Regions from separate parts of the Homo sapiens genome. Here region 2 is linked to region 1. Evidence: promoter capture Hi-C in 16 types of primary human blood cells and fetal thymus (Javierre and others, 2016). All regions are on one chromosome and are shown on one strand. Each heading gives the region's core, a stretch centred on a gene start or on the middle of the fragment in contact. The rest is flanking DNA. Distances are from core to core; before and after follow the strand shown.

What was found. Contacts are between HindIII fragments. The CHiCAGO score rates a contact against its expected background, and 5 or more counts as called.
Region 2: a fragment that was not itself captured here is called in contact with the fragment with the promoter of BLTP3B in region 1 in 1 of 17 cell types (neutrophils); the score reaches 7.1 in neutrophils.

Annotation. Positions count from the first base shown.
Region 1 is chr12:100,140,945-100,145,572 of GRCh38, reverse strand. BLTP3B (bridge-like lipid transfer protein family member 3B) reads left to right here and starts at 2,699. Exons shown (of 21, transcript NM_015054.2): 1 at 2,699-2,981. The coding sequence starts at 2,938. It overlaps BLTP3B-DT (BLTP3B divergent transcript), which reads right to left and starts at 2,518. Exons shown (of 2, transcript NR_186018.1): 1 at 2,230-2,518; 2 at 902-1,033. RefSeq lists silencers at 2,535-2,714, 3,035-3,284 and an enhancer at 2,391-3,154. The HindIII fragment of the contact is 10,318 bases long and covers 1-4,628 here.
Region 2 is chr12:96,484,596-96,489,223 of GRCh38, reverse strand. No RefSeq gene overlaps it. Among named protein-coding and RNA genes, the nearest start is that of CFAP54, 2.7 kb to the left of the region's middle. RefSeq lists enhancers at 3,683-3,822, 3,833-3,882. The HindIII fragment of the contact is 666 bases long and covers 1,881-2,546 here.

The DNA of each region.
Region 1 (4,628 bases), core at 1,450-3,949:
TTCATATCTTTGAAATAATACCTCTACTATAAGTCTGTCCCCAAATGAATTACTCCTTCCTCTGTGTTCTTATAGCACTTTGCTTGTTTTTGGTAAAGTAATTAATAATACCTAGCCTTTATTGAGTTTGCTATAAGGCAGGTTAACAGTAGCTACTAATAATAATATCTCTTAACACATGAGATCACTGAAGCTGAGAAAGATTAATTTGCTGAAGTTTACACAGTTATAAAGTGGCCAGCATTTGAACCAGAGTCTACTAACAGAGCTGAAGGTGTAAGTAACATGAGTCTGCCTTCCAAGCCAGGCCGTTAACTCTGATGGCAGGAACAGAGATTTTTGTTTTCATTTAGGCAACCCCAGGATACTTGAATAGTGCCTGGTTTATAATCTATGATAAATGTTGAGTGTAGTCAGCTGGGTGTGGTGGCTGATGCCTGTAATCCCAACACTTTGGAAGGCTGAGGCGGGCGGATCACGTGAGGTCAGGAGTTCGAGACCAGCCTGGCCAACATGGTGAAACTCCGTCTCTACTAAAAATACAAAAATTAGCCTGGTAATCCCAGCTACTTGGGAGGCTGAGGCAGGAGAACTGATTGAACCTGGGAGGCGGAGGTCGCAGCGAGCCAAGATCGTGCTGCTGCATTCCAGCCTGAGCGATGGAGTAAGACTGTCTCAAAAATAAAATAAAAATAAAATGAAATGTTGAGTGTAGTCAACTTACACGTCTATCCTTTCCATTCTTCAAAAAGGGCCAGCTTATTGGACTATGTGTAAACTACTTCCCACCCAACTCCCAAGATGTACAACCACACATCTTGCTAATACATCCCTCAGGGGTGGTACAATTTCTTTTCCTGTTTTAGATATCACTAGTGTTAAAAGAAAAACTTCAGCCAAATTAAATTTAAAGGAGTTTAACAATGAACGATTCCTGAGTCTGGCAGCCCCCATAATCACAGCAGATTCAGAGAGACTCCAGCACAGCCACATGCTGGGAGCAGATTTCTGGCCAGCAAAAGGAAAGTGAGGTCTAGAAAATGGAAGTGAGGTACAGAAACAACTGGATTGCTTACAGCTCAGTGTTTGCCTTATTTGAACACAGTCTGAACAGTTGGCTACATCTGGCCAAAACTCAGTGATTGGCACAGGTGTGGGCTATGGTCGGTTTATACCTCTGCTTATTTTCATAAGTTCATGATGTACAGAAAAACCTTTAGGCTGAACTCAATTACGTAAGGAGGCAGTGTTAGGCTAAACTTGACTTAACACTGAGTAATTTTTTTTTTTTTTGAGACAGTCTTGCTCTGTCGCCCAGGCTGGAGTGCAGTGGCTTGATCTCAGCTCACTGCAACATTTGCCTCCCGGGTTCAAGCAATTCTCCTGCCTCAGCCTCCTGAGTAGCTGGGATTACAGGCGCCCGCCACTATGCCCAGCTAATTTTTGTATTTTTTTTTTGTAGACACAGAGTTTCACCATGTTGGTCAGGCTGGTCTTGAACTCCTGACCTCAAGTGATCTGCCTGCCTCGGCCTCCCAAAGTGCTGGGATGACAGAAGTCGTCATTTTAATCTCTGAAAATGTTAGCTCTGTTTGGGATTGGGTGGGGTGGAGGTGTAGAATTGTAACAGTTTTCCCTAGTTCAACAATTTCCTTCCTTCCTTACAGAACTTTTCATATGATATTTACACCTTTAGGTTCAACCTAGTGAAGTGGGTAAGGCTGATGATTAATCTATTTCACAGATGATTAAAATGAAACTAATAGTAAAGAAATTATTTTCCCCAGGATAACACAGCTAGAAAATACCAGAGCCAGGACTTGAATTATACACCTTCTAATTCCTAGGTCCTAGACTACTAGGAACCATTGTCAACCTTTACTTCCCTTAGAATAGCAATAACCAAAGGAAACATTAAATTGCCACATTTAGGTAAGGGAAAGGCAGGACACCTTAACAAAAGAAAAAAAAAAAACACCAAAAACAAAAACCTAAGGAAGAATATGAAGAAAGGTGAGTAGGTCAAGAGAGCAAAGCAAGCACAGGAGTTAATGGCCGATTCTTAAAACATTCTAAGGAGGCCGGGTGCAGTGGCTCACGCCTGTAATGTCAGCACTTTGGGAGGCTAGGAGGGTGGATCACGAGGTGAGAAGTTCGAGACCTACTGGCCAATATGGTGAAACCTCGTCTCTAATAATACAAAAATTAGCCGGCCGTGGTGGTGCGCACCTGTAATCCCAGCTACTCAGGAGGCTGAAGCAGGAGAATCGCTTGAACCCTGGAGGTGGAGGTTGCAATGAGCCGAGATCGTACCACTGGACTCCAGCCTGTGTGACAGAGCAAGACTTGTCTCAAAAAAAAAAACAAACAAGCAAAAAAATAAAAAACATTCTGAGGAAATGAATAAGGGAAGTAGGACGTGGAAGTAAAAATCAGCGACGGGTCAGCGATGGAGGCGGGAACACCAGCAGAGGGAAGGAGGGAGGATTAAGGCCAAGAAGGATGGTGTATTGAGAGTCAAGGGCCCTGTGTCGCGAGGGCTAAGAACCCTGGCGCCAATGCCACAAACCTCCCGCCCCCGCCCAGAGCCCAGCCAGAGCCCAGCCAGAGCCCGCCCAGAGCCCGCCCAGAGCCGGCGTTGGCCCCGCCCCGCCTCGTGCCGGCCCCGCCTGGAGCCGCCCCGCCCCCGCCCTCCACCGAGTCTCTTAGGTGATGCTGCAGCCAAGATGGCGCCCGCGGCGGCCGTGGCGGCCTGAGCGTGATGCTCCGGGTTCTCGGCGGCGGCTGTGGCCTTGGCCGGGGCCTTGGGTCTCTCCCGGTCGTGAGCGATCAGCGCCTCTCCGCCGGCCGGGCTAGCCGGGACAGAGAGGAGACGGCCACGAAGAGAGGAGGCAGTGAGCAACAGGACGAGACCGCGGCGTCTCCAGCCTCGGTACCATGGCCGGGATCATCAAGAAACAAATCTTGAAGCACCTCTCCAGGTCAGTGAGCGCCTCGGTGTCGGCGCCAGTCGGCCTCCACCCCAGCCCGCACTGGAGTCAGCCTGCGGCTTCGGGGGCGGCGGCGCCTGGCGGCTGTGCGGGAGGCGACCTTCGGACTTCCCCGCTCTGGCCGGGGCAGAGGTCGCGGCCCCGGATCTCTTGTCGCCGGCGGCGCCGGGGGCTGGCCTCACGAATCGGCCCCTGACGCGTCTTCTCCCAGGGTGGGCGCGCGGAGGAGCCCGGAGTGCGGAGCGCGGCGGGCTGGGATCGCTCCCGGCGCGGCGTCTGGGGGCGTCCCGGCTCGGCTCTGTGCGGTACTGAGCGGAGGCTGGAGGTGGCCTGGCGTCACCCAAGTGCCTGGTTAATGTGCTGGGCTCTAACTCGAGTTCGGTGCTCCTTCCCCTTGGAGCAGAGCGGTTCCGTTAACCGAGGGCTTCTGGCGCAGTGTGGACGCTCAGTGGAGGCTGTGTTCTCAGTGGAACGTTAACCTTGTGATTGTTCTGAATTCCTCCCACCTTGGCGTTCCCGCTCTGTGGCATCAGAGGGTGTGCCTGTTTGCACAGTTAGGATTTGTTTTAGGTAAATAAGCAGAGTTCGCAGCTTTGGCAGGTTCTTTCTGGAGTCCTATGAGACCCACATCATTATTACTGAACATTTTTTTTTTTTGGTTTTTGCTCTTTTTCCTCTGCAACTCTAAAATTCAGGGAGTTAACATCTGTGGTGATTAAACCCAAGACATGTCATTCTCTCCATTTCATAACGCGGTTTTAGTCAGAAACATGACTCAGTAAGGCTGGCAGTTTGTTACTGCTCTTGGCTTCTCCGTGTTTGTCTCAAGACACAGGCTAAATGTAGGCTCTTGTTCCAAGTTGTTACCAGCGAACTCAAAGCCCTTGGTTAGGATCCCTTTCTGTTCGATTTGTAAGTTAATTTTAACTAATTTTGGGAAGACACGGGTATGATTATAGACTTGTATAGTAAACATAATTCTTGATTCCCCAGATTGTCTTATACCACAGGTTATATATTGGGAACAGAATTCTACTTCTGTGATTCAGCAAATATTTTCCTCACTTATAATACTGAATAAGATATAGCACTTTTCTTAAAAGTAGCAAAGTATAGCAGCGTGTGTGTGTGTGTGTACATATATATACATATGTACATATATACATATACATATATACACATATATACACATACATATATATGTGTACTACATATATATGTGTATACACTACACATATATATGTGTATATATGTAGTATTTTTTTAGTAGAGACTGGGTTTCACCAGGCCAGGCTGGTCTTGAACTCCCAACCTCAGGTGATCCGCGGTCCTCGGCCTCCCAGAGTGCTGGGATTACAGGTGTGAGCCCCCACGCCCTGCATGAATATGTATTTCTTAATGTTATCACTCATTGAAAAGTTTCTTTTAAAATTATATATATGGCCCAATCTTGAACTATCTTATTTTGGAAGGTTTTATCTATTTTTAATTTATGTCCTCCCGCCTTTCTCATACCCAGCTCCACAAGAAAATACAGATCTGCAGAAAATGATTTGAATGCCTACTTTCTCACTCGTCCAAGGATGATGCTGCATAGCTAGTACCACTCTAGATGCTTGGAAGAAAAGTTAATTCAAT
Region 2 (4,628 bases), core at 964-3,463, 3.7 Mb after region 1:
CATAACTACTTTACAACTTAGGATACTATTAGTATATCCATCTCACAGTTTAGGAAACCAAAGCTCAAGGAGGTTAAGTCATTTGACAAAAGTCAGCGTACAACCGTAGTGTCAGCGACCAGGTCCTCCAAAGGGAACTTGTGACTCCAAAGCCTGTGCTCAAAATGAATAGGCTGTATTGATCACTCCCCAAAACAAAGCTTATTAATCAAATTGAAATTAGAGAAATATCTGACAAGCAGTTTAAGAATCAAATACAGTTGGCCCTCCAAATCTCGGGTTCTTCATCTGTGGATTCAAGCAACTCCAGATTGTAAATATTCAGAACAAAATTAGAAATAACAATACAACAATAAAAATAACACAAAATACAACTATTTACATGGCATTTATACTGTATTAGGTATTACTAGTTATCTAGAGATGATTTAAAACATCCTGAAGGATGTGCACAAATTATATGCAAATACTACAGCATTTCATATCAGAGGCTTGAGCATCCACAGATTTTGGTATCTGCGGGTGTCATGGAACTAGTCCCCCACAGATAGCCAGGGAGTACTGAATATGCAGCTGATCCATTCTCTTTCCTCTATTTGTACCTTGAGGTCTGTAACTGTGGACATGATGTCTATGCCTCTAATAATTATGATTACATCTATTTATGCACATTCCAGCCTTACTTTAATTATCTCTGTATTCTAAATTAATGTGCATTTTGCTCAACCTTAACCATAGGACATTAATACATACTAGTGGCCTGAAGTGTTAACTCTCAAAATACTTTGCATTTTAAACAGGGCTTTTAGGAGACTTTACTTCTGATGGGGAAACTACAGACCTCCAGGGAAATACTTGGGGAGTTTATTCTTAGCCTGTGTATTATAGGCAAAAGTCAGAGTTAAATTTATTAAAGTATGAGTATTGAGAAAATGGAGAACCTTCTTTTCTATAAATTATGCAACACAATAAATTATCTAAGAGAAGAACCAGAAATATTTGGTGGCTTAGAAAAATCAGTCTTTAACCCTGAAAATTGTTACCAGTTCTATCACACTTAAATAAAGACAGTGACCCTAACACCCTGTGAACCCAATTTTCCATTTCAGACTAAGAAGCTTATTGGACCACAGCCTGATATCTTTCAAGTCTGACCTAATTTTATGCAGGCTCTGTGGGCCTGTGCTAATTTGTGAGGCTGGCCTAATATGTCATGTCTACTGTACCCTAATATTCTTTGAAGGAAAATAATTTTGCTCATCGGCACAGTTAATTATAGCCAGAGAAACTTCCTGGCAAGCAGTGAGACGCAATGACACCTCACTGTAGGAGTCCAATTCTCTAATCAGGATGTAGATATCATCCTTTGATCAACAAAGATTTTATCTTGTTCTCTAAGTGAACAACAAAAATTGTAAGGCTTTAAAGAATGTAGTCCTAGAGAAATAATCACTGGGCATTTACAAAAATATTAATAGACATTTTTAAAAGTCGGCTTGGTAAATTCTCTTTTTTCTCATCTTTTTCTTGCTCTAACATGGCAGACTTGTCCATTGCAGATCAAAAACTGGTGTAATTTGCCACTGAGTGCTATCTATTATATTGATGAAAGTGAAACAGCAGGATAAAATTAATTAAAGTGGTCACAGAAAAGGAAAGAAAAAAATAAAAGACAAAGTGGTGTTTTTCCTTCTAATCTGGCTACTGTCACAAACAAACTTTATCATAGGGCAGACACTTGTATTTCAAAGTCACTGGTAAAAGAAAATGTGACTAAGCAAATTCAAATACCTGAATTATGAAACATTGCATCTTAGTCACTTTCCCCCTTGCACACACTAAAGCTAACAATGCTTAACTTGCAGTAGTTTTTGGAAGCTTGTCTGAATATTTAAATGGGTGTTATATTCTGAATCATCATTATGATAAGATGGAAGTTTACATTTTATTTAGTTTAAATTAAATTGGCTGGGTGTCGTGGCTCACGCCTGTAATCCCAGCACTTCAGGAGGCTCAGGTGGGCGAATCACTTGACGTCAGGAGTTCGAGACCAGCCTAGCCAACATGTTGAAATCCCGTCTCTACTGAAAACACAAATATTAGCTGGGCGTGGTGTCGGACACCTGTAATCCCAGCTACTCAGGAGACTGAAGCAGGAGAATCGCCTGAACCCGGGAGGTGGAGGTTGCAGTGAGCCGAGATCATGCCACTTCACTCCAGCCTTAGCGACAGAGCTAGACCCCATCTCAAAATAAATAAATAAATAAATAAATAAATAAATAAATAAATAATAAAAATAAAATAAATAAATTGAATTTGAGGCATTTTTAACATTTTAGAGGTGTTATCTTCCTTGTAATTAGATGCAGCCATTATAATATCTTTCTCTTTCCTTGTCACTTTGCTTTATTCTTCTCACTGTAATGAAAGAATGGAGCTGTGCAACTACTGTGTCTGACAAGCCTAAGTACTGTAAATAGCTTCCTTATAAATAATGTAAATTGCTATTTCTTATAATTAACATCTTCGCAGGCTGCAGGGAAGCTTTTTGCCCATTCGAAAGTCTTTTTTATCTAAAGCTACTGACTGTTAAAGAATATGCAAGGTTAGTGCTCTTTCAATTCTCAATTTAGTTGTTAATCATTTGGACTATCCCAAATAGATACAATATATATGATCTACCTAATATGTAGACTTTTTAAAACTTCTTCATCCATTTATTCAGATAAATGCAACCATTTTGTTAGTGTCCATACAAGGCATAGATGAACCCATACATTCCCTACAGGAAGCAGATAACACAAACTCAAATAATCATAATTAAAAGGCATGCTATGGATTAGCTGGACATGGTGGCATGTGCCTGTAATCCCTGCTACTTAGGAGGCTGAGGCAGGAGAATCACTTGATCCCAGGAGGCGAGGTTGCAGTGAGCCGAGATCGCGCCACTGCACCCCAGGCTGGGTGACAAAGTGAGACTCCATCTCAAAGAAAAAAAAAAAAAAGGAAAAGAAAAAGAAAGAAAGAGAGAAAAGAAAGAAAGAAAGAAAGAAAGAAAGAAAGAAAGAAAGAAAGAAAGAAAGAAAAGAAAAGAGAAAAGAAAGGAAAGGAAAGGAAAAGAAAAGAAAAGAAAAAAGAAAAGAAAAGGCATGCTGTGGAATGTGCTGTGAGAAAGGTTTTAAGAAATGTGGGACCGCCAGGTGTGGTCACTCACGCCTGTGATCTCAATACTTTGGGAGGCCGAGGTGGGTGGATTGCTTGAGGCCAGGAGTTTGAGACCAGCCTGGGCAACACAGTGAGACCCTGTCTCTGATTTTTAAAAAAAATTTTTTTAATTAGCCTGGCATGGTCACATGCACCTGAAATCCCAGCTACTCAAGAGGCTGAGGCAGAAAGATCACTTGAGCCAGGAGTTTGAGGCTGCAGTGAGCTATAATCACCCCACTGTATTCCAGTCTGAGCTACAGAGCAAGATCTTTTCTCAAAAAAAAGAGAGAGGAGGGGAGGGGCAGGGGAGGGGAGGGCAAGGGGGAAGGAAGACTGTGGGAGTTCTAAGATGAATCTCGGAACTGGAAAGAGAACAGAGAATTCTAGAGGAGATGATGTTTTAGCCCCAGACCGTAAATGCCTCTCACTCACAGAAAGACCCTTGCAACAAGCATTTACCTTCTTCCCATGGTAACCTAGCACCCAAATCTGGCACCTGGCACAGAGTACAGCTCAATACATCTTTGTTGGAATGAGCAAATGAAGAAAAAGAAAAAAAAAGATGAAGAGCATTTAGAAGGATATGCCTGACTGAGAGAAAAGCCTGAGTAAGGTACAAAGCCATAAACACATACAGCAAGTCTAAATAAACAAGCTGTCTAGTGTGGTGAGCCACAGGCTGCCATAGATCCGGAGGCAGAAGATGAGGCAGAAAGGGAAGTGTGATCAAATACAATGGGGAGTTGGAAGGTATGCTGAGTAATTCTGACTTGGTTTTGACTTGGTTCTGTATTCAGGAGAGAGGTTTTGTGGTTTTGTTTTGTTTTTGAGACAGATTTTCACTCTTATCGCCCAGGCTGGAGTGCAATGGCACAATCTCAACTCACTGCAACCTCTGCCTCCCGGGTTCAAGCGATTCTCCTGCCTCAGCCTCCCGAGTAGCTGGGATTACAGGCGCCCGCCACCACGCCCAGCTAATTTTTGTGTTTTTTAGTAGAGATGGGGTTTCACCATGTTGGCCAGGCTGGTCTCGAACTCCTGACCGCAGGTGATCCACCTGCCTCAGCCTCCCAAAATGCTGGGATTACAGCCGTGAGCCACTGCACCCGGCCAAGAGAGGCTTTGTTTAAAAAAAAAAAAAAAAAAAAAAAAACAGTACATTAAAGATGTTAAAAGCCCACGCAGTGGCTCACACCTGTAATCCCAGTGAAACGGAAAAGTTCCCTTGTCCCCCTTGCAGGGCGTGCGATGGGGGTGTGGATCGCTTCTTGAGTGCCCCGCTGCTCAAACCTCTAGGGGAGTATACAGACAGGCAGGCTGTGGGGTTCTGACCCCAAGGCAGTGTCTAGGGGTAAATGTTTACAGCTGAAGCCCCAGTGGGCATGTGTTACAGGGTGCTCTTTTAGTTTAGTCATCCATAG